Linked DNA regions of Homo sapiens: all the other regions are linked to region 1. Evidence: promoter capture Hi-C in 16 types of primary human blood cells and fetal thymus (Javierre and others, 2016). All regions are on one chromosome and are shown on one strand. The core of a region is centred on a gene start or on the middle of the fragment in contact, and the rest is flanking DNA. Distances in the headings are between cores, read along the strand shown. Region 1 holds the start of ITPRID2 (ITPR interacting domain containing 2). Region 2 overlaps UBE2E3 (ubiquitin conjugating enzyme E2 E3). Region 3 overlaps UBE2E3 (ubiquitin conjugating enzyme E2 E3). Region 4 has its middle 53 kb from the start of LINC01934. Region 5 has its middle 35 kb from the start of LINC01934. Region 6 has its middle 14 kb from the start of LINC01934. Region 7 overlaps LINC01934 (long intergenic non-protein coding RNA 1934).

Region 1 (3,857 bases), core at 949-3,448:
TCAGATCTCACCCAAAAGGTCTTGAACATGTACATTCAAAATTTCAAGCTTTTACATTATAGACTATTTTAGTATTTAACAATTAAATGAACCAATAGCACATTAATACAATTTCTTGATCCATACTTTGAGTGAAGTATCTAATATCTAAGGCTTATCTGAAAACTGGGAGATTGATTTACAGCTAGATTGTAAATCTGGGGTCCAAGGACTTCAAGCAGTGTATTTGCCTCTGTGCATCTTTAAACAGAAGTTATTCCATATATGTCATCATATTTCAGAAGGGTCTATGACACTTCCAATAAAGGGTACGAGTTCTGTAATAAAGAGTGTTCAATAAGGTTCCAGTCGATTCATCAAAACAAGGCATTAATATCATGGTAGCCAATATCTTGTCTGTCTTTAGAGGAGGCAAACTGGCATATGAATCACTTTCCACAACAAAACAAAACAAACTACCCTAACTCTAATATTTGAACAAAATATTAAGAAAATCTAAATTGAGAAAGCAAAAATATGCTCGAAAGCAAACACCAACAAAAGTTTAAAGGCTACATTCCTGATTTTACAACTAGCAAAGTGGAATAAGAAACAAGTACATTTTGCTGTAGTCAGATTTACGTGCAACATGATTCATCTCCTCTGTATTTTATCAAACATTTTTGTACCAGTTGCCAAAGCATGTAATTAAACAGATTTATGCAGTCTGAATGCTTTTAAAAGTTCTATTCCCTGAGAATTCCAGTGCCATCTGACAATTCCATGTTCAAGAAGTAAACTATAAGTACAAAGTTAGCTAGTTTTAATAGCTCCCCAAACAGAAACAAAATTAAAGCCCATTTAGTGTAGTTAGGTAAATTAAACTCGTCTAAAACACATTTGAAAGGAAAATGATTCCGTGCCAGTTGTACAGATGCCAAAACTAAAGCAAAACAAAATATCCTGTTCGAGATGTGAGAATTCTTTCAAATAAAAACAGAACAAATATGGCATGATTATCTGTTCTGGATTTCTGATCTCTGATGCTAACACGATGCGTGAGTAGCTCAAGTCCTAACTGTAAAGTCAACACGGTCACCAAATAATCAGCGGTCACAGCACTTCCATTTCTAATCGCTTAGAGGAGGAAGCTATCCGCCGGCTCACTTTCCGGTTTGTAGCTTACAACGGTCGCGGGACCCACAGGGACGCGGCCCGAGTGGCTCTGCTCCGGCGTCCCGTCCGCACGGATCTCCCCCGGGACGCGGGCGGACCAGGGAGCACTCACCGGCAGTCCTTGAGCCATATCGCGATCTTCTCGTTGGGCACGTTTCCTGGGGGTAGAGAGAGGGGACAGCACGTTACCACCCAGGAGCACTACGACGGCGGAGTCACCCTGGACCCTCCCAAGTAGGAAAATCTACCACGGCAAATGCAGCCTAAGCGACACGTCTCAGTGTCCCTTGGCAGGGAAATCGGATGGCACCCAGTTGTCTGTGTTGACGCTGGGGGCGCCTCGTTCAGCGCGCGCGTTTGAAGGTCGGAAGTGTCCCCTCTCCCCTCGGCCTACCGTGCCCGAGGCTCTCCCAGAACTCGTGGCAGGCGCCCAGGGCGCACGAGACTCTCCCCAGCCCACCAGCCTCCCCCCGGAGCCCGGCCGGGAGCACCGACCTCTTCCCCCCGCTGCCGGCAGCTGCGCGCCGGGGAGGTCCTCCTCCTCGTCCTCCTCCTCGTCCTGCGTCGTCGCTTCTGTGGACAGATCCTCCGTCTCCGACGCTTGCCAGGAGCTGCGGCACTTGGCCCAGGCCTTCCTCCTGCGACTCGCCACTTGCCACTCCAGTTCCTCCTCCGCCTCCGCCGACGACGACAGGGGCCGGTCCATGGCCGCACTGGGGGCTCCGCTACCCCAGCCGGACCCTGCGCGAGACAAGGCGGCGGCAGGGACCCCCGCCCTTGCTGTCAGCGCCCGGCCGGGCAGGGGGCCCCGGGGAGCTGAAGCGGGCGCCGGAGGAGGAGGAGGAGGAGGAGGGGACAGGGAGGGAGGGAGGGAAGGAAGGGGAGGGAAGGGGCGGAGGGCCGGCGCTTCACATGAAGGCGGCCGGGCGCGCGCGGGAGCGCTAGTGGCCCGAGGGAGCGCGGCTGGGAGCCGAGCGCCCGCCCGGCCCCTGCTCCCCACCCCCTGCCTGACGCGCCCGGAGCAGGCCGGCCGCTGCGCGTCTGCGCGCCTTCCCTCGGCGGCGGCCCACGCCCCCTTCCGGCCGGGGCCGCGCGGGGCGCGGTAGGGCGGGGCGCGCCCGGCGCGACGCGGAGCAGGCCAGCCCCCGACTACTGCCCGCGGAATGGGCAAGATTAGTTTGTTAATAATCTTTCCTCCTCTCCTCCTCCTCCTCCCTCACCTAAAAATAGAACGTAAGTGGGGAGGCCAAGTCTCACAAAACATCCCCCGCGAGAAAACAAGTGTCTGCTTGGGCACCCTGAAACATACACTTGAAAGAGTCGCCTGAATATAGACTCTTTAGTGTCCAAGGAATTGGGGTAAGGACGGAAAGAGGTGCTTGATTGGTGTTGCCAAAATGTAAAAACTGCAAAAGACTAAGCTTCCTGGAGTGCTACTTTCATACTTAAAGTTATTTATCGTGTTTATGTTATGAATGAAAATGAATTGTGAAAGGATATTTAATCTGGAAATTTCACATTGAAGTTGGACTTTGGTGAGGGAGAATAGAGGAAACAATTGGGACAATGTGGAGATAGTTGCTTGGATTTTGGTGAGACAGCATGATACAAGAAACAAATGATGTCAGGGTTCAAAACTTTTTAAAGCCAGCTTTGGCATTCCGTTTTGTTATGTTTAAATTCTCATTAGCAAAAATACTCAAATTCTATCCAAAACCAGACACAATGTGACAGACCTATCAAGCAGCATTGTTCCCCTAAATGTTACATCTGAACTATACATATAAGTAAGGCTTCCAATATTTTATTGTACTTGGCTATGCTCTGAAGAACAAGTTAGAACACTTTTTAAAATCTTAACGTGATTGAAAAGAATATTTTGCGTAGACAAAATATTTTAAGGAAGGAATTATTTTTCATTTGAAATTAAAATCCAGAGCATAGTAAAATTCCTAATGGAAGCATTCGAATTACAAGGTAATTAAGTGCATTGTCATTGATAGCTACAGGAAACCATAACTTTTGGAGAATTTGGAATGAAGAATGCTCTGGAGATGAAATAGTGCCTAGTTTTTGTCCAGGCATTTACACATAAGTCATAGACTACTAAAATAGCACACTGATTTTCCTGCCTTCATTCTTTCCTATCTCCTTTCTAGCGCATTGCTCTAGATTTACAATTCCAAGACATCTTCTAATGGTTTACTAATATCCCCAAGATCAAATCCAAAATCCAGACTAGCTTTCCAGAACCATCATAATATTCTCCTGAGTCTCATCTATGTACTGCCAAATGTCAGGGGAGTTAGAACAGTGATATTAATATCTCTATGGCTTGAAATTTCACTACTAGAAAATCTTTTCTTTGAACCTATAAGACTTTCTCAGCCTTCAAGGGTCCTGTAGTAGGATGCAGCTAACAGTTTAATGGCTCTCCAAAATAGGTCAGAGTCTCGCTGCCTGTGTGGAAGATGAAAAAGAGAATGAATAAAGAAGGTACCTAAGAAGAAGCATTGAAAGGGCTGGTCAAGTGCCACAAAATATGCTGCCTTCAAAGTTTTATCCAGGGTTCTTACGTATCCACCCTGTTCCTCTGCTGCTCCCAGCTTCAATTCTATCATATCTAAGTGCTGTTGCCTACTCTGTCTTTGCTAATTAATTCATTCCTGTTCTTTCTGTCCACTACCTTCATGACTTTCAAA
Region 2 (3,857 bases), core at 961-3,460, 860 kb after region 1:
ACTTCTTTTTAAGTAAGCACAGTAAAGTTTCAGAACCACTAAGGATACAGAAATAGTGTATAGCCTCCAAAAATGGGTGTAAAGAAGGAATGGAATTATGAGCAAAACAAAACAAAACACCAAAACTAATAAGCAAACAGTCCTCAATCAATCAAAAAGGCAAGGCAAGGAGGAGGGGCGCAGAAAGAGAAAAACAGAAAGTAGTCGTTAAGTAAATGGTAGTAACAAACCCCTATCATAATGAATACAAACAAACCAAACTCTTAAAAGACTGTCAGACTAAATAAATAAAAACACACAGAGTAATGTGGTACTTTAAAATGACAAAAAAACAAAAACGGTAAAAATATATGCTACTGAAACATTGTAAGCTTGCTCTACATAATAAAATAGCCTCAAGGTATAGTAATACAGCAAAGATTATACAGCAATATATAAATAAAAAGTAATACAGCAAACACATTTCTACGTATCTTGTTTTTGACAACCAGAGGGAAAAAATGAAGATACAGAATATCTGAACCACATAATAAATGAACATGATTTAATGAAAACATAGCAAACCCTATATGTAACAATCAGAGAAGAGATATTTTTCTCAAGCACACTGGACATATGTATAAAATCTAACAATACATTAGGTCCAAAAGCAATTTTTAACAAATTTTTTAAAAAAATAGTATGAGAGGCCACAAAAATCAGTACTTAGAGGTAAATGTACAGCTTTAATGTTTGTATTACAGAAGAAAAGCTAAAAATTAAGAACCCAATCTAAAAAATTACAAAAAGAACAGCAAAATTAGCTCAAGTAAATAGAAAAGGTAACAAACGTAATAGTATAAACTAGTGAAACACAACACAAACACAAAATAGTGTCAATAAAAACTAAAATTTTTTTTAAATTTTTGGGTCAAGACTAATAAAACATAGAAACCTTGTGACAAGACAGAGAGAAGACAGAAATAACAGACATGAAAAAAATAAATGCTCTAATTCCTAGAAAAATTCAACCTACTAAAAAGAACAGACTAAGTGAATACTGGTTATACAATATAGAGATGGGACTTGTAGTTAATTTCCACCTTTTCCCCACCTTATCCCAAATACAAAACCACCAGGTCCACATAGTTTTACAGGAGACTTCTATCAAATTTCAAGTGAGATCATTCCACTCTTAAAACGCTTCTGAGAATCAAAAATAAAAAATAAAAAAATAATTTTTTTTCTCTGAGGCCAGTATTAAAAACAGGCTAATTAGGTGTAAGAAAAAAAGAAGCCAATCTCAAATCATGAACACACATGTAAGACTCTTAGTAACAAATCATATCCAAGACTGTTCATATTGAAAAAAGATAATATATATTGCCAAATTGGAAATGCAAAGTTAGTCTGACATTAGAAAAATATACACATTCTGAGATGAGATCGTGCCACTGCACTCCAGCCTGGGCGACAGAGCAAGACTCCGTCTCAAAAAATAAATAAATAAATAAATACAAAAGAAAAATATACATATTCAATTTATCATATTAATAGATTAAAGCAAAACCATATGATTATTACTTTAGTAGATAAAGTATTCATTAAAATTTAATGCCCAATGAAGAGTTTACATAAGGCCACCACCACCACCACCAAAGACAACCAAAATACTTTCATGGAAAAATAGAGGAGCCAGGTGTGGTGGCTCACACCTGTAATCGCAGCACTTTGGGAGGCCGAAGCAGGTGGATCATGAGGTCAAGGAATCAAGAAAATCCTGGCCAACATGATGAAACCTGGTCTCTACTAAAAATACAAAAATTAGCCAGGCATGGTGGCGGGCGCCTGTAGTCCCAGCTCGGGAGGCTGAGGAAGGGGAATCACTTGAACCCTGGAGGCAGAGGTTGCAATGAGCCGAGACTGCACCACTGCACCCCCACCTGGCGACAGAGAGAGACTCCGTCTCAAAAAAAAAAAAAAAAGGGACCGAATTAATTGATAAAGAATACCTTTTCAAACACCCACGCCAAACATCAATATTAAAGATGACAAGTTTATACCGCTCCATTTAAAACATGGAACAAGAAAAGAAGCTCAATTATGACTTGGTTGTCCTAGACAGTAAAGTAAGAAACAGAACTTAAAAAAAAAAAAAAAAAAAAGATTGTCTACAGATAAAAATCAAAGAATGTAATGTATAAGCAAATTATTAGAATTAAAAAGAACATTTATACAAGGTTGCTAGATAAAAAACAAGTTTTTAGATAAAACTTACAAAAGCATCAAAAATATTAAACTCCTAGAAATAAATTTAGCAAAAGATGTACAATACTTGAATACAGAAAATTACAAAGCAAAATCAGAATTAAAGAAATCCTAAATAAATGAGGGTGATACAGTATGTTTATGAAAAAGAAAATTCAACATTTTTAAGAATTCTACTTCTAATTTCTCAAATTCAATAAAATTCTAATTAAAACCACAAGAATACTTTTCCAAGGAATTTGATAAGCTGATTCTCATTTTATATGAATGCGTCAGGCAGCTCCTAATGAAAATACAGATACTTGTCCTACTAGATATCAAGACTCATTAGAATTATAGTAATTAAAACTATATCATGTACTATTTGTGCAGAGATAGACAACTTGATGAATAGAATGGAAGAGCCCAACACAGAACTAGGCAAAAAAAGAATCATGAAATGACAGATGGCACTCTAGCCACTGGACTATTCAATAAAGTTACTAAAACAAATAGTTATCCATATGGAGAAAAATGAAATTGGACTACTACCTTACCCTTTTCAAAGAATCAATTCCAAATAAATTTGGAACACTAAGGGCAAGCCTTTGAAAAAAAAATAAAGATATCCTCGAGACCTTGGGACAGAAAGTAATTTCTTAACCATGACACAAAAAGTGCTAATCATATAAGAGACTGATAAATTTAACTACCATTTAAATTCAGTTCTTTTCACTAATATACCATAAAAGAACCAAGTCATTAACAGAGAGAAGATTTTTGCAACATATATGTACAAAAGGCATCTGTATCCACAATACATAAGAACCCCTAATAAAACAAAATTGGGGGCAGGGGGACAAATAACAAAAAAAAGGCATTTCACAGAAATGAGAATGGAAGATAAACATAAAAAAATTGTTCAACCTCATTATTAGGAAATGCAAATTAAAACCATGATGAAATACTATTTTTATACCCATAGATTAGGAAAAATCAAGAAGTCTGAAGATTGTCAGAGTTGATAAACCTGCAGCGCAAAGAGAACTATTGCACTTTGCTGGTGGAAATGTGTATCAGTGTATCACCAATTTGGCATTATCTTGCATGGTTGAATATGCACGTTCTCTGTGAGACTCACCTATTCCACTCTTAGATATACAATGAAAGAATTTACTCACATATTACTAGAACACATGTTCAGTAATCTTCACAGTACGATTGTTCATAGTGACAAAAAACAAAATAAACATGGAACACCCAATATACCCTACTACAATGAATACAAGTATATCCACGTAATAAAATCGTATACAGCATGAAATTTAACTATAGCTACATGCCAAGACTCAAATAAATCTTAAAACAAGATTTAAGAGAAAAAAGTATAATTACATTATAATAATTACATTAATAGGTAATTACATTATGTAATGTATAGTGCTCAAAATTAAACAATATATGCCGTTTAGTAATACATTCAGAAACCATTATTTTTATAAGAAGTAAGGAAATGAATGAAAACATCTTAGAATAATGATCACATCTGGGTGAAGGGAAATAGAGTGACTGAATAGGGACAGACAACATATAGAGATTCAATGATACCATCTAGTTTTTAAGCTGGGTGA
Region 3 (3,857 bases), core at 462-2,961, 840 kb after region 1:
CAAGAGAGGGAGAAAAGGTAATCTTAGCAATGAGTTGTTCATTTTAACAACCTTATCAAGGCGGCTGGGGCTCAGGAAAATCCTTAGGATGCAGAACAAATTTAATTATATGAAGTACATCAAATGCTAAATGGGCATGTGTGAAGTAGGCGGAGAACACAGGTAGCTTCTGTAATATTTTTCTAAAGTAAAGCCAAACCTCTATATTGCTTTCCAAACTTCAAAAACTGTTTATAAGTGAACAGTTGTTATTCCTGAGTGTTTTAGAAAGAATCATATTTATTTAGGTTGAAAGCAATTAGGAGTTCACAATTAGGGAAAGCTATAATACAGACAATTAGGGTGAGAGGAGTGGCTGGGGAAATAACGTAGAAAAATAATTCTACTAACTAAAAGGGCAGACCTAGGTATGTGCTAGTGGTTCCCATGATTTTATCTTCCTACTCCTCTTCCCAAGAATGACCTCGTTTTGGTAAATGTGTGAATTCTTATGTAATCTCTATAACAACCAACCAGGAAATGGTATTGCTTATTAATCCATACTGTGCCTTGTGAACCTATGAATTTACTTTGAATCAAAAAAAGTATTTAAGCTTTAACAATATACAAAATACAGTACTTGTTAGATTCAATAAAGAAAACAAATTCATTCATTCATTAAGGAGTTATTGAGTGTCTACGATTTGGGGCTAGGAATCTGTACAAGAAACTAAATATACAATGGAGATTTCAGCCAAGCTGAGGATATAGATCTTAATCAAATAAACTCACAAAAAAACATAAAACAGAAAACGCTACAAAGGCAAGGTATTCCTTGTTGAATGCCGGGGAAATGTTAGAGAGATAAGGGAAGAGTCAGAGGAAGCAATATTTAAAAGATTATTTCAAATACCCCAGTGGGGGTTTATCAGTAGAAGCTGAAAGGAAAGGGCTGGGAAAGAGGACTTCAAAGCATAGGAAAATGCCCTGAGGCCATCAGGAACAAGTAGCAGGGCCTGGAAGCACAATGTGGCAGAAGGGAAGAGAACATGGGAAGTACAATGAAACGACCTAATGAGGGAAGCTGTAACAAACGTCTAGGCAGGACCTTGTAAGACTACATGAAGGAGACTTGTCTTTATATTAAAAGAAATAGGCAGCTATCAAAAGATTTTAAGCAACAAAGGGGGAGTGTTAAACTAATATGGACATTTTGCAAGGCCTCCTCAGGCTGCTCTGTGGAAAATGGTCTGGAGGAGGCCCGGAGGGGCTGTGGGTGGACCACTGCAGTAATCTGGGTGAAAGATGATGATAGGCTAGACTAATATGGTACCAGAGACAAAGAAGAGGGACTTGAGAGTTATTTAGGAGGAAAAAAACAAAACAAAACAAAAATCAACCAGACTTACGTTTTGAAATAGGACAAGTGAGGAAAAGGAGGGTTTCGAGAATAGCTTATAGTTTTCAGACTGCTATGACTGAGATAATGTATATGCCATTAACTAAGATATGGATGTTGAAAAAAAAGTTGGTTTTGGATACACTGGGACTAAGAAGTTTATGAGATATCCAAAAGATAAGTATGTCAAAGAGACAGACAAGTAAGATAAAGGGGCCTGGTCCTATAGATATAAATTTGTGAGACCTTGATACACAGGTCCTTAATGTCCTGCAGGTGGGATGAGCCAGGCTAGGTAAAGAGTACAGAGTAAGAAGGCGAGATGATACCTGAGATGAGACCACCACACCTAAGTCCCAATAATACATGTCAGACCTCTAACAGGTGTTTAACAGAGGGACAAAAAAGCAAATGGAAACAAAGCAGAGGAGAGATTAATTACATGAAGAGATATGGAAAGAAGCTGGGTTTGAAAAGTGTGTTAGAAACTAAAGACGTCATCTAGTCATGTGGTGATCATGCCAATAAACTACAAAAACTACCTGCATGTGTATGCTGGCAATATGAACTAACTCTTTCTGTAAAAATACAGAAGGAAATGCTAATACTGGTTACCTCTAAAAAGGATGTGGTGCTCTGTAGTGAAAAGGAAACCTAGTTTTCACTTATACTCTTTCTACTCTGAATAGTTTTCTGTGTAATTTTTAATTTGAAAAATAAGAGGGACAGGGGCCCAATAAGTCAAAACTGGGGCTATGGCTGAAGCACTAAGAGTGCTGTAAAGGCACTACAGAATAAAATCTAAACCATAAAGGATTTTAGGTAGGCAGAGTAATTTCTATGATATGCTTTCTTATCAAACCCCAAACTGGAGAACTCTGACAACAGAGATTTTCTAATTCTGAAAAATCAGATTAATAAGAGCTTTTAGAAATCTTGGCTAAGATTACTTAACCCTTCTTAGGTCTCTTCCCTCCCCCATTCTTTGCACACTGTACAGTTTAAGGGCTCATCCAAAACTGAAGCCATTTCGCCAATATATTGTAAATCTGAATTACAACTTAACCATATGTGACAGATCATCTTGTTTTCATTTTCTGCCTTTAAGACAGGCTATGATTAGGTAAAATACAACTAACAGTTGATAAATGTGTCAAGCTCTAGCCCAGTTTATCATGAGGCTTAAACTAAACACAGACTCTAACAGCACCTGTTTGTCCATTAGTTTTTTTCTGTATGTTTTGCAGTTTGATATACGAGGGCAGGTATGGAAATGTATCTTCTGCTAGCAAGTATTTGTGTTTTGTGCTACATTTTTGTTCAGAACCTTAATGCCTACACGGAATCCCTGACCTGCGAAAGACTCAAAATTCAATAAATCTATTTCCTGCTTATCTGTGGCTTTATGGAAGATCTTTTTCCTTGGTGGACAATGTAATTACAAAGCTTCATACTATAGCTGGCACTTATGTGGGGTACTCAGTGTTACTGATTCACTCTTCTAACATTTACTGATTATCTACCATGTGCCAGGCACTAGTGGGTACTGAAAATACAGTGATGAACAGAAGAACATACAAGGTCCTTGCCCTCACAGTGATTATGCAAATACTGAACAACACAAAATTATCCACATAAAATAATGCTGGATAGATACAAAGTCACTTATATAAGCAGACTATATTCCAAAAAGAGTGTAGGAAAAATAGTACTTAACAAATTGATTGTTGTCTTTTTTTTTTCTGTCCCAACATATCCAAGGGTATGTGTATATTCCCATCAGTTAACACTGGCTCACTAAATTAATAAGGGAAGTGGAAGGGAGGGAACAGTGTGGAGAAAATCTCCCAGGTTATTCTAATAAGCAACCTTCTTAAGAGGTACTAAGTTAATTGATGTGGTTACTACATCTGAAACCATGGGTCCCAACCTTGGCTGCCAAATGTAATCACCTGTGGAGTTTAAAAACTTACCCAATACCAGGTCCCACCCCTAGAGATTCTGATGTATTAGTCTGGGGCTTGGTCTGAGCTTACAGAGCTTTAAAAACTCATCAGGTGATAAAATGCTCAGCCATGATTCAAAACAACTGGAGACGGGGAGAGCAGATATGCAGAAAGAATGGGGAAAAAAAGAATGAAAACAAGAAAGTATTCCAATCCTCAGATGTGACATAATTGCCTGGGCTCTCTAACTGTTACTCCTATTGTGCAGAAAGATGTAAGAAGCTATTATAACTTTTGCCAAAACTCATTAACATCTTTAGATTGTGGTGAATTTATTGAGGTAATGCAGCTTTGCTGGGCTCAGCCAGGGGCATGCCAGCCTCCTTGGAAAACTTCCCTATCACCACCTCAAAAAGCTGTAACAATAATCAGCATAATATAACAGCTTTTTAAAATTGATCAAATGAGAAAACGTCTCTACAACCTTCTTACTCATACACAGCACAAGTAATTTTGCTTACACATTTGTCTTT
Region 4 (3,857 bases), core at 847-3,346, 820 kb after region 1:
GTTGGTGTTGTTTGGATGAACAAGAGGATAACTTTTAAAAGATTCCTTTAGATAAGGAATAACCAAGGGCCTGAATGAGACAGTAGGAGTGGAAGGAAGAGAACAGAATCAAGACATGACTTCCTTCAGAAATAAGAAAAAAAGAAAGCAACTACCACTCTAAATGTGAAATATTCTAAAGCAAACTTGTCCAACCTGCAGCCCACGATGGCTTTAAATGCAGCCCAACACAAATTAGTAAACTTTCTTACATTATGATATTTATGCATGGGCCATTTCTTTAGCTCATCAGCTACCGTTATAGTGTTAGTGTACTTAATGTGTGGCCCAAGACAATTCTTCCAATGTGGCCCAGGGATGCCAAAAGATTAGACACCCGTGTTCTAAAGAATATTATTGTAATCTGCTTACGACAGTTAAGAGTCATATCCTATTTTTTTTTCAGATAAAAAGTACAGTTGGGCTTAAATGTGCAATAATCACAGCAAAAATATTGTTCAGAAAGACCCAATCAGGAAAAGAAAAAAAGTTTCACTTCTAAGTATTTAACTCTTGGCTTTCTAAGTTAAGTAGTTAAACCAATTAAAATTCCAACCTCTTTGCTGACTAGTTTTTCAGAGAAAAGCAAAAAAATGGCCCCACTTCTTACATATCAATCTTGGGAGGCAAGAAGTCAGGACAATAGCAGGGAAAGGTAAGCAGAAAAAAAGGTGTGAGCCTTGGTCATAAGCTGTGACTGCCTTATGGATTTTCTGGAAATGAAATCTGATCTTCAAATTCCGTACTTCCTGAGTGAGGTACAATCCAAAGGGAGAGAAGGCTTGTAACTGAGTCTTGCCACGGGACCAATGGTGGAAGTGAGGGTCACAGAAATTGGTCACTATGTCCTTCTCTGACCACCACATCCATAAAATAGAACAGGGAAGAATACTCAGTTTTCTAGAGTCATTTTTCCTCTAGCAAACTCAGGGACGTCATCTGCCACACCATCCACTGAGGCTTTTCCAAAGCTCTGTGTAACTCACCTTGGACACCCCTCTTCCTGACTAGACCATGATGACCTCTTTGGGAAACACAGCGTAACTATTTTTGTGTCCAGCATTTAAAGCAGTATTAACTTTCAGCAAATAATTGAATTTCTCTAGTTAAAATTGGTGTCAAGGTAGATTCTTCAATGACTTCAGGAAAATCACTTGAATGAAACAAAAATTAAGGTGCTAAAGATTCAAACAACTGCTAAACCATACCTGATGAAAAAGAGGAGCCATTCGAGCTGATATGGATGTTTTAATTGCATGTTCATTAACATGTTAACTATGAAATAAACGAAAGGCTCATCCAGATAGACAACTCAATCATTCATTTTTACACTTGACCACAAACGACTAGTTACTCTGCTGGACATTAATGGGTCACACAGATGTATGAACTGTCGTCTCCCCATTCTCACTTTCAGCCAATAACATCTCGTTTCATGGAGGAGTAGAAGCTACCAAAGAACTTCCTACGAACCACATCTACCCTCCAATCTCACCTATGCCCATGTCCTCTGCAAATTCACAACAAGGGCCAAACACCTCACTTGTACTAGATCCTATCCCCTCTTGCTTATCTAGGGGAACTCAAGAATTTGGTGAATGACAATGCTGCTGTAAGTGCTGGATGCTGCACTTCCCAAAGAGCTTCTGCTCTAGTCAGGGAGAAAGACAGATGTCCAAGGTAGTGCAGAACTTTGAAAACACCCTGAATAAATTATGTAGCAGATAACTTTTTCAAGGACACTGCTCCTCCTCCCCTACACCATCCACTTCCTCCTCTCTAATCTTTCCTATCAATATACAAACATGCTGTAATTTCTCCCATCTTAAAGAAACTCCAACTACTCCCTACTTCTCTATTTCACTGCAAAATTGTCAGGAGTCTCCAAGTTCTCTATTCCTTGTTACTTTATTCAATCAAGCTTTAATTTCATTGCTCCAACAAAATTGCATATAAAAGTCACCAGTGTCTAGGACTCCTGAGTTGCTAATGGCTATTTAGGTCCTTATTTTATTTGGCTTATCAGTAGTCTCTCATGGGGTAGATCATTCCCACCTCCTTGAAACTTTTTACTTCCCTTTCAGGTTATCACACTCTCCTGATTTTCCTTTCACTTCTTGAGCGTTCCTTCCTGGATTACTTTGCTGACTCATCTCTCCTCAGCCTCCTAATGCTGGGAGTGCCTAAGCTTCTTTCTTCTCTAGCAGCACTCATTCCCTTGAGTGAGTGATCATAGGTCTCACAGCTATAAATACCAACTACACACTCACGTGTCACAAATATACATCCCTGGCCCAGAACTCTTGAATTCCAAATTTGTATATCCAATCTTGCACTTCCATTTGGATGTTTAATAGGCATTTCAAACTTAACCTGTCAAAAACTAAGCTCATAATCTTTCTCCCTATCCTGCTTCACCCTCGAGTTTTTCACCTTGGTTAATGACAACTACAGCCTACTAGTTTGCTCAGGCCCTAAACTCTAACTCCTTTTTCACACCACATATTCAATCTATCAGCAAATCTTCTTAGCTCTATTTTTAACCAGAACCTGACCTTTTCTTACTACTTACACTGCCACCACCCAGGTTGAAGTCACTGGTATCTCTCACCTGGATTACTGCATTAGCCTCCTAACTGGTCCCCCTGCTCCCAATTCCTTAGCCCCACAGCAAGTTTTTCTCTGACTGATCAGATTCTAATAAATCATGTCCTGTTGCTCGTTGGCTAAAAACAGCTTCCAGTGGTGTCCCATCTTATTTAGAATACTAGCCAAACTCCTTAAAATGAAATACAAGACCCTATGTGATCTGCCCACCTGTCATCTTCTTGACCTGGCCTCCTATTCCTCTCCTAGTTGCTCACCTGCTCCAGCCCTCCTAAGCACTTGCTACCTTTTGAATGCATTGGGCATGCTCTTGTTACAAGATTTTTTCAGTTGGTATTCCCTCCGCCTGTAGGACTCTTTTCCTATGTGGCTTATTCCTCACCATCTTCAGCTCTTGACTCATTTTTTAGGTGAGGTCTTCCCCGACTACCCTTGTTATAACTGTAATTCAACCTCCCCTTTCTTTCTCCCTCACTGCACACACTATTTCCCTTCCCTACTTTGTTTTTCTCCATAACACTTACCATCTAACATACATATATGTGTGTGAGAATGTGTGCGTACGCACACACACACACACACATATATATATACACTTTTAAATTTTTTTGGTCTGTCTCCTAGCAATTGAAAGTAAACTCCATAAGGGTAGGAATTTTCGTGTATTTTATTCACTGCTAATCCTAAGCACCCAAACCAATATTCCAGTGTACACAACTAATAACTTACTGAATGAAATAAATTGGATCCCTTATTTCTAGGGGCTCATAATTGAGATGATATACATACACAAGTAAAACATTATATATGTCCTTAAAAAAAAATAACCATGGAAGAAAAAACATGGTGTCTCATGCATATTTAAAATGATCTTCACCATTTGAGAGTTCTGTGACCACAGCAAGAGTTTAGCAGAGGGCTAAAAAGTGCTCTTCAAACGATGATAAAGGAATCAGGTAAGGGGTGCCAGTGAAAGCCCTACAGTGTTATCCCCTCATACTCTTTATCTCATAAATTAATACTCTTCTTCATCACTTTGTAGATGAAAACTTGAAATGCTCATATGAAGACCTAACTACCCCAATCTCAATCACTAGAGAATCCCTGACTTTCCTTACAGACCTGGGCCCCTAGCTGTCAGGACTTAGTACCACACACCTCTCGGCAACCCATTCCTTCACAGATTTACCTTTTCCTTCTCTTGGACTAAG
Region 5 (3,857 bases), core at 570-3,069, 800 kb after region 1:
ATATTGGCCTGTCTTGCTAGGTTGAAGAAGTTTTCCTGGATAATATCCTGAAGTGTGTTTTCCAACTTGGTTCCATTATCCCCGTCACTTTCAGGTACACCAATCAAACGTAGGTTTGGTCTTTTCACATAGTCCCATATTTGTTGGAGGCTTTGTTCATTCCTTTTCATTCTTTTTTCTCTAATCTTATCTTCACACTTTATTTCATTAAGTTGGCCTTCAATCTCTGATATCCTTTCTTCTGCTTGTTTGATTTGGCTATTCATACTTGTGTATGTTTCACAAAGTTCTTGTGCTGTGTTTTTCAGCTCCATTGGGTCATTTGTGTTCTTCTCTAAATTGGTTATTCTAGTTGGCAATTCCTCTAACCTTTTATCAAGGTTCTTAGCTTCCCTGCATTGGGTTAAAACATGCTCCTTTAGCTCGGAGGAGTTTGTTATTACCCATCTTCTGAAGCCTACTTCTGTCAATTCATCAAACCCATTCTCCATACAGTTTTGTTCCCTCGCTGGTGAGGAGTTGTGATCCTTTGGAAGAGAAGAGTCATTCCGGTTTTTGAAATTTTCAGCCTTTTTGCGCTGGTTTTTCCTCATCTTCTTGGATTTATTTACCTTTGGTCTTTGCTGTTGGTGACCTTCAGATGAAGTTTTTGTGTTGTCGTCCTTTTTGTTGATGTTGATGCTATTGCTTTCTGTTTGTTAGTTTTCCTTCTAACAGTCAGGCCCCTCTTCTGCAGGTCTGCTGGAGTTTGCTGGGGGTCCACTCCAGACCCTGTTTGCCTGGGTATCACCAGCAGAGGCTGCAGAACAGCAAAGATTGCTGCCTGCTCCTTCCTCTGGAAGCTTCGTCCCAGAGGGGCACCCAGCAGATGCCAGCCAGAGCTCTCCTGTATGAGGTGTCTGTTGATCCCTGCTGGGAGATGTCTCCCAGTCAGGAGGCACGGGGGTCAGGGACCCACTTGAGGAGGCAGTCTGTCCCTTACCACAGCTAGAGCACTGTACTGGGAGATCCGCTGCTCTCTTCAGAGTCAGCAGGCAGGAATGTTTAAGTCTCCTGAAGCTGTGCCCACAGCCGCCCGTTCCCCCAGGTGCTCTGTCCCAGGGAAATGGGAATTTTATCTATAAGCCCCTGACTGGGGCTGCTGCCTTTCTTTCAGAGATGCCCTGCCCAGAGAGGAGGAATCTAGAGAGGCAGCCTGGCTACAGTGGCTTTGTGGCATTGTGGTGGGCTCCAAGTCCAAACTTCCAGGGAGCTTTGTTTACACTGTGAGGGGAAAACCACCTACTCAAGCCTCACTAATGGCAGATGTCCCTCCCTCCACCAAGCTTGAACGTCCCAGGTCTACTTCAGACTGCTGTGCTGCCAGTGAGAATTTTAAGCCAGTGGATCTTAGCCTGCTGGCCTCCGTGGGAGTGGGATCCACTGAGCAAGACCACTTGGCTCCCTGGCTTCAGCCCCCTTTCCAAGGGAGTGAACAGTTCTCTCTTGCTGGCATTCCAGATGCCACTGGGATATGAAAAAAAAATTCCTGCAGCTAGCTTGGTGTCTGCCCAAACAGCCACCCAGTTTTGTGCTTGAAACCCAGGGCCCTGGTGATGAAAGCACCTGATGGAATCTCCTGGTCTGTGTGTTGTGAAGATGTGGGAAAAGCATAGTATCTGGGCCAGAATGCACTGTTCCTCACACACAGTCCCTCATGGCTTCCCTTGGTTAGGGGAGGGAGTTCCCGATCCCTTGTGCTTCCTGGGTGAGGTGACGCCCCACCCTGCTTCTGCTTGCCCTCTGTGGGCTGCACCCACTGTCTAACCAGTCCCAATGAGATGAACCTGGTACCTCAGTTGGAAATGCAGAAATCATCCGCCTTCTGCATTGGTCTCACTGGGAGCTGCAGACCAGAGCTGTTCCTATTCTGACATCTTTCCCAGGATATCCAATCTGATTTCTTACTCCTTCTCAACACACATATTTTCCTACAACTATATTTAAGCACATAATCTACCAAATGCACTTTTTCATATCATGTTATTACTACCATCTTCTCCCATCTTCTGTTCCCCAATTCCTATAAAGGTTCAGCTCAATGGCCCCTTCTTCCAGGAAGCCTTCTTGATTATTCCAGCTTAGAGCTACCTCCTGGCCACCCTAATGTCTTTAGTATATATATATCACTAATTTGATTTCTTATCCCTATCTTTTCACATGTATACATTTTAGGGAAGGCGCTTGTAAATTTACTAAAAGTAACTGAAAACGTCATTGAGTTTCATTGCTTAATGTTATAGAGAAAAATGACAAGGAAGTTGCCTAAGCTTTTCCACTTTTTGGCTGTTTTATGCAGAATTATATATAATAATAAAATCTGGTTAATTTTCATTTCTTTGAGTTTTTAATAATTTTGTGGCACAATGCTTTGGCTAATGCTTGAAAATGGATCTTCACCATAAGCATGGGCTACAAAACATTTAATTTGGGGCAGATAAGACTCAGGCTCTACTAGTGTGTAGAGCATACCCATTGTGCTTATTTATCAAATGCTCAGTGAATTATCTCTTTACAAAGACTCCCGATTAGCACTATGTATAGTTTCCTAGGCACAACGTACTTTTGACTGACGGTTTTCAATCAACATTGCATCCCTTTACACACAGGGAATGAATCAAATTATTCTGTTGCTGTTTCTATAAATGTAAAAATGTAATTTTGGAGCCATAAAGCTGTCTCCACAAACACTTTGTCTTCTTTTTCTTGGTTACTTTTTGTTTCACATCACTTAAGAAATCAGAGTGACCATGGCGTGCTGTGCTCTGTATGGGACATATTTTTGCTTTATTTCATTGGTTGAGTATTGTATTGGAGTACCACTAAACAGCACTATAATAGTGCACTACTTGGGAGAAACATTATTTTTTTGGCTAACTCCATTAAAAATCACTGAAAATTACAAGTACAGAAATTTAAAAAAAGAATAAAGCTATGAAAATGGAACACCAGTGTTTTATGGCATATGAAATGCCCCTCTCACACAAAGCACATAAATGTTTAACCAGCAAGAGGCATCCTTTTAGGAGGCTGTCACTATAGCAGGTATGCTATAGTGGCTGTTACCAAATAAAATGCAGTGGTTGTTACCGAATAAAAATGATGACTTTCTTTTTTGTGTGCCCCATCTCAGGATGTGGAGAAGAAAAATGAACAACAGATGGCTGTAGAGAAACTATTTCTATGGACCTGTTCTTGTCTATTACTCTGGGAGAAATAACTCTGCTGTTGAAAAGCACTATATGGCCACATGGCCACAATCCACATCTTGACCAGTTGTTTCAACCTGTCCACATCTTGACCAGTTGTTTCAACCATTTGTATGCATAAAGATGATATTGGACATTTAGTAAAATGCACATTCCTGGGCCACTTTGCAATAATTTCTTTTAGAGATTTGGAGCAGAGCCCAGGTGCCTGGATACTAACTATCAACTAAAATGATGTGTTCTTGGACCACACTTTAAGAAACACTGCTTTGGATCTTGTACAACATAGACTCTATGTTCTCTATGATGGGAAATGGAAGTAATGATGAGTTTCCCCCAATATTGTTTAGGACCTGAACCAATCTGTATTCTATGGCAGCTTATCCTATCTGAAGCAACATGTTGAACTAGTGTAGGAGGATTTCTTTTTCTTTTCCTGTTTTTTTTTTTTTTTTTTTTTTTAGAAGTAGTCTCCCTCTGTCACCCAGGCTGGAGTGCAGTGGTGCTATCTCAGCTCACTGCAACCTCCACCTCCTAAGTTCAAGTGATTCTCCTGCCTCAGCCTCCTGAGTAGCTGGGACTACAGTTGTGTGCCACCACACCCAGCTA
Region 6 (3,857 bases), core at 747-3,246, 780 kb after region 1:
TCTATACTTAGGAAGTATTATTGGCTAAGAATATATAATTCTAGATTTACCATTCAAGTTATTTCAAAGCACTCTATTCAGAAAAAAAATAATTTATCATTGTGCAGAACATCTGAAACATTAGCAATGAAAGTATTCTGATCGTCTCTGAGTTTTGTAAGGTAGACTTTATCCAAGACACTGCTCTAGGCTCTATGTCTCACTGATTAAGTCTGTCATTTATTGGAGAGCTGCAGGCTTCTCCCTGTCAGCTCAGGTTTGTGTGCAGATAAGTCATGTGTTTAAAGCACACTGAATATGTTAAAGCCACACTAACAGATGTCAAAAAAAAAAACAGGAGATATGGATGTCACTTTTAAAGCATCTCAGAAATGAAATCATCTGCGGAGGCAGTCTTAAGGGCCCAATGAGCAAAGGTACCTTGTCTATGATTGTCATAAGGTTACACAGCACTGGCGCCTTAAATTCTTTCAAACCTGTGAGGGGAAGTATCCCTGTGTGGAGGACTTGACTTCACAGGAGGACAGAAGCCAGTTGAGATCCTGTGATTCAAAATGATGCATTTGCCAGGTGTGGTGGCTTACACCTGTAATCCCAGCATTTTGGGAGGCCAAGGTGGGAGTATCACCTAAGCTCAGGAATTTGAGACCAGCCTGGCAACCATAGTGAGAATTCATCTCTACAAAAATCTTAAAAAATTAGCCAGGCATGGTGGTGCGCATCAGTAGCCCCAGCTAGTTGAGAGGTTAATATGGGAGGATAGCTTAAGCATGGGAAGCTGCAGTGCGCTTTGATCACGCCAATGCACTCCAGCCTGGATGACAGAGCAAAATTCTGTCTCAAGCAAAAACAAAAACCAATGCATTTGAGGAGGTCACCATTCCCTCAATATTACTCTTATTGACTTCCGACCACATGGTGTCTTCATTTCCTTGTGTTGGATTACAAAAACTGAGAGGAAGATAACAGAAAGATGATTGAAGTACATAAAGCCACTACAGATAAACTTCATTTTCTCACAATCTTGTCTGGGACTTCTCTTGATTATGAAGACATAACTCTGTAGATAAAAATGTAAACAGCCTTTCTCCATTAAGATTACCTCCTTTTTTTCTCATATTTAAGGTCCAATAAATTAAATGTATTTTGAAAAAAACTGGCATATATAAAAACATTTTACTAGCTGGATTTGTATCTACTTATTGACTTTCACTGTAATTTTAGGATTCAAAAAATATAAATCCTAAAAGTTAATTTAAATATCACCTGTGAGAATATGAGTGTTTACCTCTACATGCTTGGGATGAGAAAATCTTGCCTTTAGCCACTGCATCACCATCAGTATCCCATTGCTACTTCTAGAGTCTAGAATCTAGACCACTCATCTTTCTCTAAGCTTTGAGTGCCATATTATCATACATTATCACCACTCCTCTCCCTGTGGATCATCAACCAACTATTGGGTCATTTCCCATCATTGTTTGAATAATCATTCCCAACCAGCTCTGAAAACCCCATATCCTAAATTAGATTTCAGATGTTATCCAATCCTTTTTAACAAGTCTTCCTTCCTCTTTTAATAAAACTTGATGATATCTACTTATTTCAGCTCCTCCACAAAAGCATTCCATAATCCTTCTAGCCCAGTGATTTTCAAACTTCACTTTGGATCACTTGGGCACTTCAATAAAATGCAGACTTTGATTCAGTATATCTGGATGGAGCCTAAAATTATTTATTTCTGAAGCTCTTAGGTGATGCCAATGCTCCTGGTTCTCAGACAAACGTGGAGGAACAAAGTTCTAGCCTACCATGGTATCAACTTACTCTAAATTCATATAAGGCAGGCAGGCACCATATATGATTTATTCATCTTTGTATCTCCAGTGAGTCAGAATGCTTGACATATCACAATGCTCAATAAATATAAATGTTTGCTAAATAAATTGATGGACTGAATGAATAAATGTGTAACATTCTCTCTGACACTTAGAAAATTCTACTTAAGACAGATTGTTTTTTCTTTTTTTGAGACAGAGTCTCGCTCTGTCACCCAGACTGGAGTGCAGTGGCATAATCTCTGCTCATAGTAACCTCCCCTTCCCCGGTTCAAGAGATTCTCCATGTCTCAGCCATCAGAGTGGCTGAGGTTATAGGTGTGTGCCACCACACCCGGCTAATTTTTGTATTTTTAGTAGAGACAGGGTTTTGCCATGTTGGCCAGGCTAGTCTCTAATTCCTGAGCTCAAGTGATTCACCTACCTCAGCCTCCCACAGTGCTGGGATTACAGGCATCAGCCACCACATCCAGCCCAGACAGAATATTTTTATATGCACTTTTTCTTTGAAATGTAGTTGAGGGCAGGTATGCTCTACATTTCTCTGTATCTTTAAAGGCCGGTATGTGCCGTTTGTGCCCACAGAAAATAGGCACTCAATATAAATATTGACTAAACAATCAATTAATAAAAGGATTGATGGGATTGATTGAATAAGTAACTGGAAAAGAAGGGGCATCAGGTATAGTCTGCACTTGAGGTACCTAGAAGGTATGAATCATTTAACAAGGTGGCTGTACTTACAGACAGAAAGCTTCAAGTCCAGCATAGGCAGAGCTAGAGAGCAGAAATACTAAAATGAGTAACCAGGAAAAATGCATTTTGTAGACACAGACACACTCTAACGAGAAAATTACTTCAGTTAGTTAAAATGCCAAGCCAGTGGTTGATATGCTTGGGAATAAAACCAAGCATTATTGCATGGGTAGGCAGATGGTGCTTTTTTTTTCCTTAATTCAAAGCTTCATTTTTGTAAATAACAATGGAAATTGAACAACTGGCGAATATTAAGCTTTACAGACTATGTTAAGAGTTTTCAGAAGTGAATTTCCTCAACAATTTCTGCCTTTGGCATATTTAAATGTATACTGACTTGTGGTATTATTCATTCAATATTTCACATCTATGTGTTATCTTCACAACTGGGCTGTAGCCACCCAGAAATAGGGACTTTATTCATGCACATGGTGGGCACACAGTGATACCTGCTGAAAAAATAAAAAATTAGAAAAACTTGGATGACACACAACTCTAGTTTCTGGTATTGAGCAGAGACGAGCAAGGGTGGGCCTGGAAGTGAAATCTGAGGCATGTTACTTGAGTGAATTATCAGACTGGAGAAGAAAACTCCATGTACATTAGATATGAACTTCTTTCTTTCTTTTTTTTCCCATTATATTCTCAGAAGATGAACTAACGTAGAATTCTGGCAATGACTGGTTCTTTAAAAATAGCATATCATGTAAATAAATGAAAACTATAGTGCCCCTGAAGTTTTCAGAATCATTTCACCAAACATTGATTTTGCCACCAAATTACAAGTAAGCCAGATGCAAATAATTTATCAGTAGGAGCAATAAGAGAGATTATGTTATGACTATATTTTATTTGTCAGAAAAGTAACTAAGGTGTTGACTCTGAGATAGGGAATACACACACACACACACACACACACACACACATACATATATATATAGGTTTAGAAAACTATATGGTTCAAAATATGCCTATGATGCTCCTGATTCATATTTTAATGTATTAACTATTCCATAATTACTTAGAAAATTATGCTTCGATTCTGGTTAAAGATGGATTCTGCAAGAACATAGAAGCTTCTCATGCATACAGTATTTAAAATAGAATGAAATTAGCAATCTGTATCTTGAAATTATACATAACATTTAGCTTCATTTAAAATTAGAGTGCTAGAAGAAGCAGATTTCCATGGCATTTTCATTATGCAGAGAGGTAAACAGCAAATAAATAAGCCATACATGAATATGAAATTAACAGCATGAT
Region 7 (3,857 bases), core at 621-3,120, 710 kb after region 1:
AGATATCTTTTCTCTCAAAAATACCCACATACTCATTACATATAATGTATAATTTTTTGGCCTGGGAAAAATAGGAAATTATCAGTTGACTAAAATTGGAGTTTATTGTGTACTGAAATAAATCTAGAACGCAATATTTCTTTAATACTAAGGTGAAATTTTTCTTTCTTTTAACAATTCTCAATTCTGAAAACAACCTGTAATTAGTCTGTATACATGCTTTGGTATCCTCCATTCTACAAATAACTTGATTTTGGAATCATGAGATTTGGAATAATGAAAATAATCATATAGTGAAAATATATATACATATACACATGTATTACATGTCTATATATGCCCAATACTATCTTTTCATATGTGTGTGCACATCTTTGCTTGTAGTTTAATTCATAAAGATATTGATAAATTTGGGCATATTAAAATTAAAAGACATTGTAAAGAAGATGACAGGCTACAAAATAGAAGATAGTTCCAATAGATATACTGAAGGGATTAGTATCAAGTATATAGAAAAAGTCATTTTGATCAGTAAAAAAAAAAAAAAATTAAAACGCAATGGAAAACTGGGAAAAAGATATAATATTTTAATCAAAATGAATATATTTGACAAATAAACAGATAAAGCTGATCAATCTTATGAAAAAACCTTGAAAATGAATATCAGATCACAATATCATTTTTCAAAGTATTTGGCAAAAATTAAGAAGTCTGACAATACCAAGTGTTAGAGAGTAAAGATAAATCAGTTTGTCAAAAATAATTTCTGGAGTTGTAAATCTTGTAGAGTTTAATATTTTGTACCATGGCCTTCCAAGGTATAAACACAGAGAAACAGTTGCATGTGTGCACAGAGACATGCATAAGAGAGTTCCTACATCACAGCCAAGAATAACAAAAGCTTCAAAAATTCCAAACGTCTATTGACAGGAAAATGGATAAATAAATTGTGGTATATATTCATTGTATATTGTAAAGTAATTGAAAACAAAAATTACAGATACAGCAATGTGGATAAATCTCAATAACAATGCTGAACAAAAAGGAGCAAAACCAAACAGACATAAACAATGTATTGTTTAAGTATATGTATTTTTGTTTATGTGTATGTGATGAAACTATCTTTAAAAAGAATAATATATACAAAATTTGGGATAGTGCTTATCTCTGAGGGGAGAGAAAGAGGTTAGAAAATAGTGTATAGATAAATACAAAATAGTGTATACATATAAATAATAGTGTATAGATAAATATAAATTCCAGTTCTTTGTCGGGGGTGGGGGTTGGAGGCTCATGGACATTTTTATATTATTAAAACAAATAAAAGATGGCCATGCTTAGTCAAATGACGATAGTGTATCCTGGACTAAGAATGATAATTAATCTAATTCCAGATATTGGGGGTCCAGAAAAGATGGCAGCTCCCTTTAAGAAGGTTAGTAGGTTATTTGTCTTTTTTACTGACTTTTCATGTTCCATTATGTGTTGTATTTGGTATCTTATGTGAGTCACTCCACAAGCCATTACTTCTTTTTATAATATATGTCAAAAGATAAAATTACACAGAATTTCTTTTTACATTTTACAAAATGTACTATGGTGAGGCCTACTTAGTTGGCAATAAACACTACTGCTGATCCCTTCAAAGATTCACCAAGCAACTGGGAAACTTGATGAGATGGCAGAAATAACAAACTTATTTTAAAAAGACAACTTGAAAAAGCCTATTTGCTTTTTCTTCCTGCCAATCACACTTATTTTGTGATATATTAGCTGCTGCACGTCCCATGTGCTCCATGTTTGTAGTAGTAAGTACTAATCGGATAGAGGAGAATAAAGTCTACTGTTCAATTTTAAAATATAAATGTAAATATTTGTTTTCAGATAGAGTCAGAAAATGTAAGGCACAAATAACTTTTTTAAAAGACTCAAAAAATCTTTTGAAATTCATTAATTTTCTAATTATTACTATCCACATTTAGGTTAAAACATTGTAGAAAAGCATGGCTTTTAGGTGTGTTATGCTTTGCACTTGATAATTTTAACTTTGAAATTCAAAATTGCTGTTGTGATCAAATTCATGTCAATTGAACAAAGAATATAGAATTCAGAGATGCAGTAAAATGTCAATGAAATATCATAGACGTACCAATGTAGAGAACATAGAAACATAAACCCATAAATTTGAACCAACCTTACAAAACCATTCAGAAATATGTAGCTAATGATTCACTCTACATAGTATGGTCTTGACTAATTCCAGAAATGAAAGAGCAGAAATGATCTCCCCGAGAACTTTAAGCAGGCTATGACAATAGATTTGGCATTTAATTATGATCTCCAAATTGGTAATATCAAATTCAGCCGAGGCCCATATGTGCATCTGTTTGCTCACATGGTTGCTCCCGTACACATGCTTCATGACTGATCAGATTTCAGCCAGAGAGTTTTCTAGTTCAGGAGGAGCTTGGAATTAGGTATAAAGAGTAGGAAAAGGAGCAAAGACCTATATATGTCATTCCCTTGCTTATGCAATAAATATTTTTCTTTATTCTCTGCGTGCCATGAACTGTGTCAGATGCTAAGGAGTAATGTCGGGCAAACATGGCAAGGCCTCTGTCCTCATGCAAGCAAGTGAATGGAGAAATGATTACAGAATGGTGTGTGTTTTGAGAAAGAAGCACCATGTGCTACAATACTTTCAGCAATCTGGACTTTAAGAATCCACAAACACATTCCCAAATCAAAGTATCCCCGTGAAAGAGGAAGCCGAACTTCGTGGAAGAACTCTCAGGGCTTGGTGCTTCTCAGAAACGGGAAGTCCTAAGAATGAAGCTTAAATGGTGGGCTGACAAGAGTTCACCCGAAGAGGCAGTGGTTAAAACATAAAGAAACTCCTAAAGCAGGTTAAGTAGTTTAGATTTCATCCCAGGGCTATGGGAATCTCTGCATGATCCAGAAGTGAAATGAACACATACTACGAAGATCACTCTAGTGGCTGTGTGAAGAATGGATTAAAAGGGAACAAGTTAGAGTGCAGGGAAACCAGTTAGAAAACTATTGCTGTAATCTGGGTAAGGGATGCTGGTCTGAACTAGGGTAATAGGGAGAAGCAGGAGATTCAAGTCCCTTAAAACGTAGTATGAACTGAACTGGGTGAGTTCAAAGAAAGGGGAGAATCAAGTTTTCTTGCTAAACTCTATGTGAGGCTTTAAGAATAAAATAAGGTTTTAGTTAGGACATGGAAGAGATGTTAACCTATGCTTAGCTTCTACTTACAAGGAATAGTGGGAAAAGATACTCTGCCTAAAACACTAATCTAGGATATGATAAAATAAAGATATTTAGATATTTCCCCATCCAGTATGTACATACATAATACATTTTACCTATAAACATCTAATTATATGCAATTCAAAAACAATTTATATTTAATACAACTCATGTGTTAACAAGACTGCATTCTGCAGACAGCTATTGGTTACGAGACTCTAGGAAAAATCTTTTTACAGTTTTTGTTGTGTTTTGGAGCACAATTATCGCATAATAGAAAGTAAGCTATAATATCAAAAATGCATTTGAATTTTTTTAGTTCAGAACTGGTCATCAGGAGTAGATAGATGCCTTCTATTTTGGAAAGGCACAGGAATGAGCCACATAATTTATACATTGACAGACCACTGGAAATGTTCTAGAACAGTGATTCCCAAACACAGCTGCACATAAGACGTTCTTACTGCATCCTCACATCATGGAAAAGGCAAGAGAGGATGAACTCATTCCGTCAAAGCCCTTTTATAAGGGCACCCAATCCCATTCATGAGGGAGGAGCCCTCATGCCCTAATCACTTTGTAAA

The links. The method cuts DNA at HindIII sites, captures the fragments that hold promoters and counts their contacts. A CHiCAGO score of 5 or more calls a contact.
Region 2: a fragment that was not itself captured here is called in contact with the fragment with the promoter of ITPRID2 in region 1 in 2 of 17 cell types (total B cells and total CD4 T cells); the score reaches 6.6 in total B cells.
Region 3: a contact is called between a fragment that was not itself captured here and the fragment with the promoter of ITPRID2 in region 1, in 4 of 17 cell types (naive CD8 T cells, total CD8 T cells, naive CD4 T cells and 1 more). The highest score is 7.1, in naive CD8 T cells.
Region 4: a contact is called between a fragment that was not itself captured here and the fragment with the promoter of ITPRID2 in region 1, in 10 of 17 cell types (naive CD4 T cells, total CD8 T cells, total CD4 T cells and 7 more). The highest score is 9.5, in naive CD4 T cells.
Region 5: a fragment that was not itself captured here is called in contact with the fragment with the promoter of ITPRID2 in region 1 in 4 of 17 cell types (non-activated CD4 T cells, activated CD4 T cells, total CD4 T cells and 1 more); the score reaches 6.8 in non-activated CD4 T cells.
Region 6: a fragment that was not itself captured here is called in contact with the fragment with the promoter of ITPRID2 in region 1 in 1 of 17 cell types (naive CD4 T cells); the score reaches 5.0 in naive CD4 T cells.
Region 7: a contact is called between a fragment that was not itself captured here and the fragment with the promoter of ITPRID2 in region 1, in 1 of 17 cell types (total B cells). The highest score is 7.4, in total B cells.

The regions. Positions count from the first base shown.
Region 1 is chr2:181,890,071-181,893,927 of GRCh38, reverse strand. ITPRID2 (ITPR interacting domain containing 2) reads right to left here and starts at 2,198. Exons shown (of 18, transcript NM_001130445.3): 1 at 1,651-2,198; 2 at 1,268-1,313. The coding sequence starts at 1,861. RefSeq lists silencers at 1,562-1,701, 1,992-2,321. The HindIII fragment of the contact is 2,528 bases long and covers 51-2,578 here.
Region 2 is chr2:181,027,947-181,031,803 of GRCh38, reverse strand. The region is part of intron 3 of UBE2E3 (ubiquitin conjugating enzyme E2 E3); the gene reads right to left. Among named protein-coding and RNA genes, the nearest start is that of UBE2E3-DT, 49 kb to the right of the region's middle. The HindIII fragment of the contact is 3,673 bases long and covers 374-3,857 here.
Region 3 is chr2:181,045,143-181,048,999 of GRCh38, reverse strand. All of the region lies in intron 3 of UBE2E3 (ubiquitin conjugating enzyme E2 E3), which reads right to left. Among named protein-coding and RNA genes, the nearest start is that of UBE2E3-DT, 66 kb to the right of the region's middle. The HindIII fragment of the contact is 2,231 bases long and covers 596-2,826 here.
Region 4 is chr2:181,068,632-181,072,488 of GRCh38, reverse strand. No RefSeq gene overlaps it. Among named protein-coding and RNA genes, the nearest start is that of LINC01934, 53 kb to the left of the region's middle. The HindIII fragment of the contact is 267 bases long and covers 1,963-2,229 here.
Region 5 is chr2:181,086,992-181,090,848 of GRCh38, reverse strand. No RefSeq gene overlaps it. Among named protein-coding and RNA genes, the nearest start is that of LINC01934, 35 kb to the left of the region's middle. The HindIII fragment of the contact is 984 bases long and covers 1,328-2,311 here.
Region 6 is chr2:181,107,655-181,111,511 of GRCh38, reverse strand. No RefSeq gene overlaps it. Among named protein-coding and RNA genes, the nearest start is that of LINC01934, 14 kb to the left of the region's middle. The HindIII fragment of the contact is 1,196 bases long and covers 1,399-2,594 here.
Region 7 is chr2:181,184,580-181,188,436 of GRCh38, reverse strand. The region is part of intron 1 of LINC01934 (long intergenic non-protein coding RNA 1934); the gene reads right to left. Among named protein-coding and RNA genes, the nearest start is that of LINC01934, 63 kb to the right of the region's middle. The HindIII fragment of the contact is 1,934 bases long and covers 904-2,837 here.